Linked DNA regions of Homo sapiens: regions 1 and 3 are each linked to region 2. The links are contacts of gene promoters, found by promoter capture Hi-C in human tissues and cell types (Jung and others, 2019). All regions are on one chromosome and are shown on one strand. The core of a region is centred on a gene start or on the middle of the fragment in contact, and the rest is flanking DNA. Distances in the headings are between cores, read along the strand shown.

Region 1 (3,286 bases), core at 530-3,029, 160 kb after region 2:
GACTCCATCTCACACAAAAAAAAGAGATGGGGTCTCACTATGTTGCCCAGGCTGGTCTTGAACTCCTGGGCTCAAGTGATCTGCTCACCTATGCCTCCCAAAGGGCTGAGATTATAGGCATGACGCACCATGTCCAGCCAATGATGTATTATTTCTAATGACTTCGTTTTGGCTGGGTTCAGCTGGGCAGTTAGTTCTTCTGCTCCACTTAATACTGGCTGTGGTCACTCACATGGCTTCATTCAGCTGGGAGCTTGACAGAGGTCAGAACACTCAAGATGGCTTCATTCATAAGTCTAGTGCCTCTGCTGGGGTGGCTGGAAGGCTGGGGGTGTTGGCTGGGCCTCTCTTTTCATGGACTCTAGCCTAAGCTTCTTTCTTGAGTGGCTTGATCCCAAAACAGTGAAAATGGGAGCTGTCAGGCTTTGTAAGGCCTAGACCTAGATGTCACACATTATCATGTCCTCTACATTCCATTGGTCAAACCAAGATACATGTCTAGACCAGATTCAAGGGATAAGGAAATAAACTGTACCTCTTGGTGAAAGGCCTGACATGTATATACAGGAATGGGAGGAACTGTTGACAGCCATCTCTGCAGACAATCTACCACATGAACTAACTCATGTGTTTTTGTTTTTTGTTTTTGAGATGGAGTCTCGCCCTGTCGCCTAGGTTGGAGTGCAATGGCACGATCTCGGCTCACTGCAACCTCCGCCTCCCAGGTTCAAGCGATTCTTCTTCCTCAGCCTCCCAAGGAGCTGAGATTGCAGGTGCCCGCCACCACGCCTGGCTAATTTTTTTTTTTTTTTTTTTTTTTTTTTTTTTTGAGACGGAGTCTCGCTCTGTCGCCCAGGCTGGAGTGCAGTGGTGGAGTCTTGGCTCACTGCAAGCTCCGCCTCCTGGGTTCACGCCATTCTCCTGCCTCAGCCTCCAGAGTAGCTGGAACTACAGGTGCCTGCCACCACGCCTGGCTAATTTTTTTTTGTATTTTTAGTAGAGATGGGGTTTCATCATGTTGGCCAGGCTGGTCTCAAACGCCTGACCTTGTGATCTGCTGGCCTCAGCCTCCCAAAGTGCTGGGATTACAGGCGTGAGACACTGCGCCTGGCCTAGCTCATGCTTTTAAATAACGTATCTGTAGCTCAGTTTAGCCCAAGGTTGCAACTTCCTTTTTTTTTTTTTTTGAGACAGAGTATCTCTCTGTCGCCAGCCTGGAGTGCAGTGACCTGATCTCAGCTCACTGCAACTTCCATCTCCTGGGTTCAAGCAATTCCCTGCCTCAGCCTCCCAAGTAGCTAGGATTACAGGCGCCCACCACCATGCCTGGCTAATTTTTGTATATATATATTTTTTAGTAGAGACGGGGTTTCACCATCTTGGCCAGGCTAGTCTTGAACTCCTGACCTTGTGATCCACCTGCCTCAGCCTCCCAAAGTGCTGGGATTACAGGCGTGAGCCACCACACCCAGCCTCCTTTTATTTTTTTAATTTAAATTTTATTTTTTTGAGACAGAATCTTGCTGTGACGCCCAGGCTGGAGTGTAGTGGAGCAATCAGGGCTCACTGCAAACTCTGCCTCCTGAGTTCAAGCAATTCTCCTGTCTCAGCCTCCCGAGTAACTGGGATTGCAAGTGCCCACCACCACACCAGCTAATTTTTTGTATTTTTTGTATTTTTTTTTTTTTTAGTAGAGTAGGGGTTTTACCATGTTGGCCAGGCTGGTCTCGAACTCCTGACCTCAGGAGATTTGCCCGCCTCGGCCTCCCAAAGTGCTGGGATTACAGGTGTGAGCCACCGTGCCCGGCCATGCCCAACTAATTTTTGTGTTTTGTTTGTAGAGACGGGGTTTTGCCATGTTGACCAGTCTGGTCACAAACTCCTGGCCTCAAGTGATCCACCCGCCTCAGCCTCCCAAAGTGTTGGGATTACAGGCATGAGTAACCATGCCCAGCACAACTTTTTTTTTTTTTTTTTAAGACAAGGTCTCACTGCTGTCACCCAGGCAGGTGTGCAGTGGCACTATCACAGCTCATTGCAGACTCAACCTCTCAGGCTCAGGTGATCCTCCCACCTCATTTTTAGATTTTTTTTTTTTTTTTTTGTAGGGATGGGGTCTTACTATGTTGCCCAGGCTGGTCTGGAACTCCTGGGCTCAAGCAATACTCCTGCCTCGGTCTCTTAAAGTGTTGGGATTACAGGCGTGAGCCACTGCTCTGGGCCAAGGTTGCAACTTCTACTTGAAACTTTCAGGGAATTCACCTGGAAATGCAGGGGCTTTTTTTTTTTTTTTTTTTTTTTTTTTTTTTTTGAGACAGAGTCTCACTTTGCTGCCCAGGCTGGAGTGCGGTGGTGCGATCTTGGCTCACTGAAACCTCTGCCTCCCAGGTTCAAGCGATTCTCCTGCCTCAGCCTCCCAAGTAGCTGGGACTATAGGTGTGCACCACCATGCCTGGCTAATTTTGTATTTTTAGTAGAGACGAGGTTTCACCATGTTGGCCAGGCTGGTCTCGACCTCTTGACCTCAGGTGATCCTACTTTGGGATTGTTTCCACCCATCAGCCTGAATCCCAAAGCTGCCTAGTTCCTAACCTGAAGGGAAGAAGGCCAGGTGATTGGCTGGGTGCAGTGACTCACACTTGTAATCCCAGCACTTTGGGAGGCCAAGGCAGGCGGATCACCTGAGGTCAGGAGTTCGAGACCAGCCTGGCCAACATGGCGAAACCCCCCATCTCTACTAATAATAATAAAAAAAATTAGCCAGAAAAGAAGACCAGGTGATTAATGAGATCTCTTTATTTTATTTTTAGAGGGAGTCTCACTTTGTCACCCAGGCTGGAGTGCAGTGGTGCAATCTCGGCTCACTGCAACCTCTGCCTCCTGGGTTCAACTGATTCTTCTGCCACAGCCTCCCTAGTAGCTGGGATTACAGGCACATGCCACCACAGCCTTTTAGTAGAGACAGGGTTTCCCCATGTTGGCCAGGCTGGTCTCAAACTTCTGACCTCAAGTGATCTGCCCTCCTCGGCCTCCCAAAGTGCTGGGAATACAGGCGTGAGCACCGCGCCTGGCCTATTTTATTTTATTTTATTTTTTTGAGACAGAGTCTTGCTCAGTTGCCCAGGCTGGAGTACAGTGGCATGATCTCAGCTCACTGCAACCTCCCTGGTTCAAGCAATTCCCCTGCCTCAGCTTCCCAAGTAGCTGGGATTACGGGCACATGCCGCCACGCGTGGCTACCTTTTTTGTATTTTTAGTAGAGACAGGGTTTCACCATGTTGGCCAG
Region 2 (2,908 bases), core at 378-2,877:
CGCCATCCAGCTTCAGCACTTACCAACTCAAGGTCAATTCTGTCTCATCTCTACCCCACCTGCTCACCAACAAGCCCTGGAATATTTTGAAGCAAATCCCCGATGTTACAGCAATTCATCTGTAAAGCTTTTGTATGTTTCTCCAAAAGACACTTTAAAAACATAACCACAAGCCAGGCGTGGTGGCTCATGCCTTTATTTCCAGCTATTCAGGAGGCAGGAGGATCCTTTGAGCCCAGAAGTTTGAGTCCATCCTTGGTAACATAGGAAGACACCACCTCTCAAAAAAAAAAAAAAAGGCCAGGCGCAGTGGCTCACGCCTGTAATCCCAACACTTTGGGAGGCCAAGTCAGGCGGATCACGAGGTCAGAAGATCGAGACCACCCTGGTTAACACGGTGAAATCCCATCTCTACTAAAAAATACAAAAAATTAGCCAGGCATGGTGGCGGGCACCTGTAGTCCCAGCTACTTGGGAGGCTGAGGCAGAAGAATGGTGTGAACCCGGGAGGCAGAGCTTGCAGTGAGCCAAGATCGCGCCACTGCACTCCAGCCCGGGCGATAGAGCGAGACTCCGTCTCAAAAAATAAATAAATAAAATAAAATAAAAAATAAAAAACATAACCACAATACCATATTAGTTCTCAATTTTTTTTTTCGAAATGGATTTTTGCTCTTATCACCCAGGCTGGAGTGCAATGGTGCAATCTCCGCTCACTACAATCTCTGCCTCCCAGGTTCAAGTGATTCTCCTGCCTCAGCCTCCCAAGTAGCTGGGATTACAGGCATGCACCACCAGGCCTGGCTAATTTTTTGTATTTTTTTTTAGTAGAGACAGAGTTTCACAATGTTGGCCAGGCTGGTCTCGAACTCCTGACCTCAGGTGATCCACCTGCCTTGGGCTCCCAAAGTGCTAAGATTACAGACATGAGCCACAGTGCCCTAAAATTTTTAACAATTCCTCAATATAGTCAAATATCCATTGTTCAAAAATATCCATTGTTCAAATTTCCCCAATATCTTTTTTTTTTTTTGCAGTTGGGTTAAAATTTGGCTCCAAACAAGGTCTGCACGTTGCGTTTTTGTGCTGTCTCTAAAGACTCCCTTCTTTTTTCCATGTAATGCTTTTGTTGAGGAAACCAGGCTGCTTGGAAGGATGAGCCTGGGGGAATTCGGGAGAGGGAGAGAGGGGGCAGGGAGGAGAGAAGGATGGGTGTCCAGATAGATGTGCCATCCATGCTGGGGGACACAGGCAGAATGTGGAGGCCTGTCTCCCTAACTGGGAGGGGAGGCCAGGGCTGCTGAAGGGTGGGGGCCAACCCTGGGCACCCCCCCTTCCCCTCTGCCGCATCCAACTGCTGGAAGTGATGGGAGACAGAAAGATGGCCTGAGTCAGGAGCAGGGGCAGAGCTCAGGTTGTCGTGGGGTCCCGCTGCCCACGTCAGACTGGAGGTGAGGGATGGGCGGGGCCTGACAGCAGGCCTGGAAGGAACAGGATGTCTATGCTGGAGATAGAGGGAGAGGACAGTGCCAAAACCCAGCTCCTGGCCAGTCCCCAGCTCCTCCCTGCCTGGCCCTATCCCAGGATCCCCTCCCCGGCCTCCCAGCTATGATCTACCCCGGGGCCCAGACTTCAGGCGCCTTCACGATGCCGGCGGTCAGTGGTCCAGGTCCCTTATTCTGCCTTCTCCTCCTGCTCCTGGACCCCCACAGCCCTGAGACGGGGTGTCCTCCTCTACGCAGGTTTGAGTACAAGCTCAGCTTCAAAGGCCCAAGGCTGGCATTGCCTGGGGCTGGAATACCCTTCTGGAGCCATCATGGAGGTGAGGGGCAGGGGTGGGGACCAGCTATGCCCAGGGTCCCTCAAAGTGCTGGAGGGGCTGTGACTTGGTGGGGAGTGGGTCTGTCACAGCCATCCTCTGTCCAGGGTGGGGCAAGGCCTGGGACAGTGCCAGGCACCCCAGGACCCCTTCCAGGCTTGTCTCCTGCTCCACCGCCTCAACACCCCCCACCCCTGCCCAAGCTGTTTCTCCTCTGCCTCTCTGCTTCCCTGCCCCAGGACTTCTCTCTTCTCCTCTGCCTCTCCTTGGACCCCTGCCCTTCCTCTACCTCTGACCTGTGAACACACAGACACATGCTCACACACTAAGTCCCAGGCACACAGAAGGCAATGTGGACCAGCACAAACCTCCACTCTCCCGGCTCCATCCCAGCGGGCCTGTGGCTGGCCATGAGAACTGGGGGCTACCTGGAGGGAAGCATCCTCATCCCAGGTGAGTGGGCACCAGCCCTTCCCTGTATGTGTGTTGTGGGTGGAAGCAGGCATGAGAGCATCTTAGCCCATAGGTTTGTATTCAGGGACTTCCAAACCCAGACCTACAAAGAGTGTGTCTTCTACCAGATCTTGTTCAAAAAAGGGTTTGTGATGATGGAACTACACGATAGAGGGAGTGAGCAAGAACAATGAGGATTAGAGTGGAGCGTGAAATAGTCTAGGAGCATGGCTTCCAAAACATATGCTGTGAGGTCTGTCCACCTGAGAGTTGGGCCATGGATTTAATTCTGAGCCTCTTAGCAGGCAAAGCAAAGACAGAAAGCAGATCGGCTGTGGATTTCTGTCTATAAAATGTGAGTTCTTGGCCAGGTGCAGTGGCTCACGCCTGTAATCCCAGCACTTTGGGAGGCCAAGGCGGATGAATCACGAGGTCAAGAGGTTGAAAACCATCCTGGCCAAAATGGTGAAACCCTGACTCTACTAAAAATACAAAAATTAGCTGGGTGTGGTGGCGTGCGCCTGTAGTCCCAGCTCCTCAGGAGGCTGAGGCAGGAGAATTGCTTGAACCTGGGAGGCCAAGGTTGCAGTGAGCTGAGATCCTGCCATTGCACTTCAGCCTGGGCACAGAGCCAGA
Region 3 (3,226 bases), core at 55-2,554, 200 kb before region 2:
AGTTTGATTCTGGCCCAGTCCGGCTTTCCCTCTGTCCCCGGGTCTCCCCTCGGCGCCACTGGTGGCGGTTACAGGGGATGGGACTCTGAGACCCCCTGGGACCTGGGGCGGCAGGAAGGGACGCGAACGAGGGCGCAGGCTCCCCTGTGTGTTTTGTTGTGGTGGTAGAGCCACTCCAGCCCGGAGGATGGGCTAGGCCAAGCTGACAGTTCAAATCCCCTGGCTGCTCCTCCGTCCCGCCCGGGAGTCTCTAGCTTTAGTTCCGGGTGTGGGTGCCCTGATGTGGAGCTGGGGTGGAAATTGCCTGAACCAGGCCCCCATCAGAGGCGGAGTTGGCGGCCTTCCAGCTTCCCTTCTTGATGCCCTTGAAAAGGAGGAGCGTTTCACCGTTGGTGGTGGAGGCTTGCGAGGTGGCAGGTTTGAGGTTGCAGTGGTAGGGCAGTCCAGCCAAAAATAACCATGGGTGCTGGGGTGGCTGGAATCCGGGAGGGCAGCCGCTGACCTGGCTGGCTGCACTTCTAGTCAGCCCAGTTCTCTGGCCAGGAACAGCAAATGAGAAGCCGACAAGGCCTGTGCTCAAAGTTGACATCCTTGGCTTGGTTTTCTTCATATCACCTTTTTCCTCATTGTGCAGAGCAGAGCTTCCCAAAGCATAATTGTGGCCTTTAGCTGCTTTTTAAACAAGCTGTTTGCTGAGGTTTTCGAGAATCAGAGATAATTGAGAAATGGGCCCTAGAGCCCTGGCTGGGAGGATGATATCTGCTATTTCCAATATTTTACTTGCCTAGAATGTGTTAAAGGAAGGATACTCTTCTCTGTTATTGCTTTGTGTGTGGTACCTTATAACTCTCATGCTTGTCATCTCTTTTGCCAGGCTGAGAGATGTTATCTCCATTTTCCAGGCATGCTAACCAAGGCCTAGAGTGACTTGTCTAAGGTCATGAGGCTGGTATGTGACAGCACTAGGATTTAGTTTAGTTTTCTGCCAGAGCTCTTGCCTCCCAGTTTCCTTGGAAGGGACTTATAAAATGTCTGTAAGGCATTTAACACAGCCCTGAAGTGTTACCTGGAACTTTCAGATGTTCATGAAAAGCTGCCACTAGTACCTCTGTGGGCACAAAGCTGTGCTAGGCATTTCACTTATAGGAGAGAGATATTTAATCCTCACAGAACCTTGTAAGAGATTACTATTCCCTTGTTGCAAGATGAAGCTGACGGTCAGAGTAGTGTAATAATTTGTTCAAAGGCACACAGCTAGAAGTGGCAAGCCATGATTCAGATTGACATCTATATGACTCTGAAATTTTGTTTTCCATTGATGTGAATATGTATGGACATAAGAATCTTCTAGGTCCCAGGAGGTAGTCTTTGGCGTGGTGTGACTGTGACTGTGTCCTCCAGCTCTGGTGTTTGTCTGCCCAGTGAGGATGGGCAGGACCATACTTGCCTTGTGGCACGACATGTGCCCTGGCCAATAGAGCATCTTCTGGGTCAATTAGTGGGGTGTGAGTTCCTGCTTTCATTCCATAGCTTGGGCACCTGACCCAGAGTAATTGCAGGAAAACAGTGAAATATTAGTCAGCTGATTACCAAAACAACAAATCTAAGCTTTTGGGGAGGTGATTTCACAAAATATTTATCTCCAAAGACTTCCCAGGTACACGGGGGAAGACAAGTTAGTGGGGAGATGGAGGGCTTTCTTAGGGACACGGAGAGGCTCCCAGGGGTTTGGTCACATAGGCCTCACTGTCCTGCTCAAGCATGGGGAGCTGTTCTATGCTGCTTTTCTCCTGACAGACCCTGCTGGTGAGATGGGGCAGCCTCAGTGGGTTTGTACAAAATGTGCTTGGCCAGGCAAGCTCAGGACTGACCATGACTGGAGGTTGGCTGTGGCCAAGTGTGAGTGTTGGGAAGAAGGCTGGCTCCATGGAGGCAGTCAGGGATTGACGTATGGGTGGAGCAGGTTGCTGGCCTCACATGGCCAGCTTTCTCCGCTGGTGGCAGATCCAGCCTGGCAATTTCATTTGGTGGATATAAGTCCTCACTGAACAGGGATAGTGAGGTGGGGCTCTTTTACCTGCCAGATGGCTAACCCTCTGGCTATCCTGGGATAGGCGGAGGGTAGGATACTAGAGCCAGAGAGCTAGAAGAAGGGACAGTAACGGTACTGTTGGATAAAGGCAAGGCACCTGGCAGGGCACTGTGGGGGTCTAAAAGGGTGCTAAATGGGCCTCTGGAAAGAAAGTTAGATGCGCTGGGTCCACGTCCCCTTGGGTTGACCCTCAGGAGGGCTATGGAATGTTTGTGAGGCCTGTGTGCCTCTTTCTCCAAGGGCTGCTCTTCTAGTCTCTTGTGGCTCCTCATGCTCACTTGTGGTCCTTACTCCCTTGAGTGGGGTCCAGTTCAGGGCCCTAGCCAGACAGCGTTCAGCTTCTCAAACTTGAGGGCTTTGAGCCCTCGCCTCCTGTGTACAGCCCTTTGCCTGGCCTTTGGCTTTACAGAGCATTCACTTCACGGGACCGCCCCCCCGGGCGGGAGGGAATAGAGTGCAGGAGGCTCCCCTTTCTCCTGCCTTTGATCTCCCTGTGGTAGTGTTCACCGTCCCCACCCAGGGTTACTGCCTCAGCCCCTGGCCCTGGCTCACCCAGTTCCCTGAGCACCCAGGCCACCAGGCTAGTGATGCTCTGCTGGGAGCTGTTTGTTTGTTCACTGGCAGAGAAAGTTGTTTCCTATTGTCTGCTGTTTGACCAGTGTGACCTCAGAGTTCTTCTTCACTTCATAAACCTCTGGGAGGGGCCGCCTTCAAACAGAACAATGGGCCTCTTCAGGAGCAACCGGGAAGCCCCAGCAGCCCCATGGCTGGAGGTGGCTGGCTGTGTGTTTAGCAGGGCTCTCTGTTCCTCGTGGCCTAGATGCATCACTGTAAGCGATACCGCTCCCCTGAACCAGACCCGTACCTGAGCTACCGATGGAAGAGGAGGAGGTCCTACAGTCGGGAACATGAAGGGAGACTGCGATACCCGTCCCGAAGGGAGCCTCCCCCACGAAGATCTCGGTCCAGAAGGTGAGAGGGAACTAGATAGGAGGGAAAGACTCCTTCTGTCAGCTGGGCTCAGCTGTGGCAGCTCCAGACTCCTTGAGATGACTCCATCCCTGCCCAGCTGTCCCTGGATCCCTGCCCTGTCCTCTTTGGGCTCCTCCACTAACCTCACCTGCATGCCTTGGC

What was found. The method cuts DNA at HindIII sites, captures the fragments that hold promoters and counts their contacts. A contact is called where the count stands out against the background at its distance.
Region 1: a contact is called between a fragment that was not itself captured here and the fragment with the promoter of LMAN1L in region 2, in 1 of the 25 tissues and cell types used here (lymphoblastoid cells).
Region 3: a fragment that was not itself captured here is called in contact with the fragment with the promoter of LMAN1L in region 2 in 6 of the 25 tissues and cell types used here (aorta, dorsolateral prefrontal cortex, heart right ventricle and 3 more).

The regions. Positions count from the first base shown.
Region 1 is chr15:74,967,347-74,970,632 of GRCh38, forward strand. No RefSeq gene overlaps it. Among named protein-coding and RNA genes, the nearest start is that of RPP25, 12 kb to the left of the region's middle. The HindIII fragment of the contact is 5,742 bases long and covers 1-3,286 here.
Region 2 is chr15:74,811,208-74,814,115 of GRCh38, forward strand. It overlaps LMAN1L (lectin, mannose binding 1 like), which reads left to right and starts at 1,628. Exons shown (of 14, transcript NM_021819.3): 1 at 1,628-1,822. The coding sequence starts at 1,648. The HindIII fragment of the contact is 6,905 bases long and covers 1-2,908 here.
Region 3 is chr15:74,616,285-74,619,510 of GRCh38, forward strand. It overlaps CLK3 (CDC like kinase 3), which reads left to right. Exons shown (of 13, transcript NM_001130028.2): 2 at 2,913-3,064. The coding sequence starts at 2,913. Among named protein-coding and RNA genes, the nearest start is that of CLK3, 2.1 kb to the left of the region's middle. RefSeq lists enhancers at 1-306, 307-917. The HindIII fragment of the contact is 8,305 bases long and covers 1-3,226 here.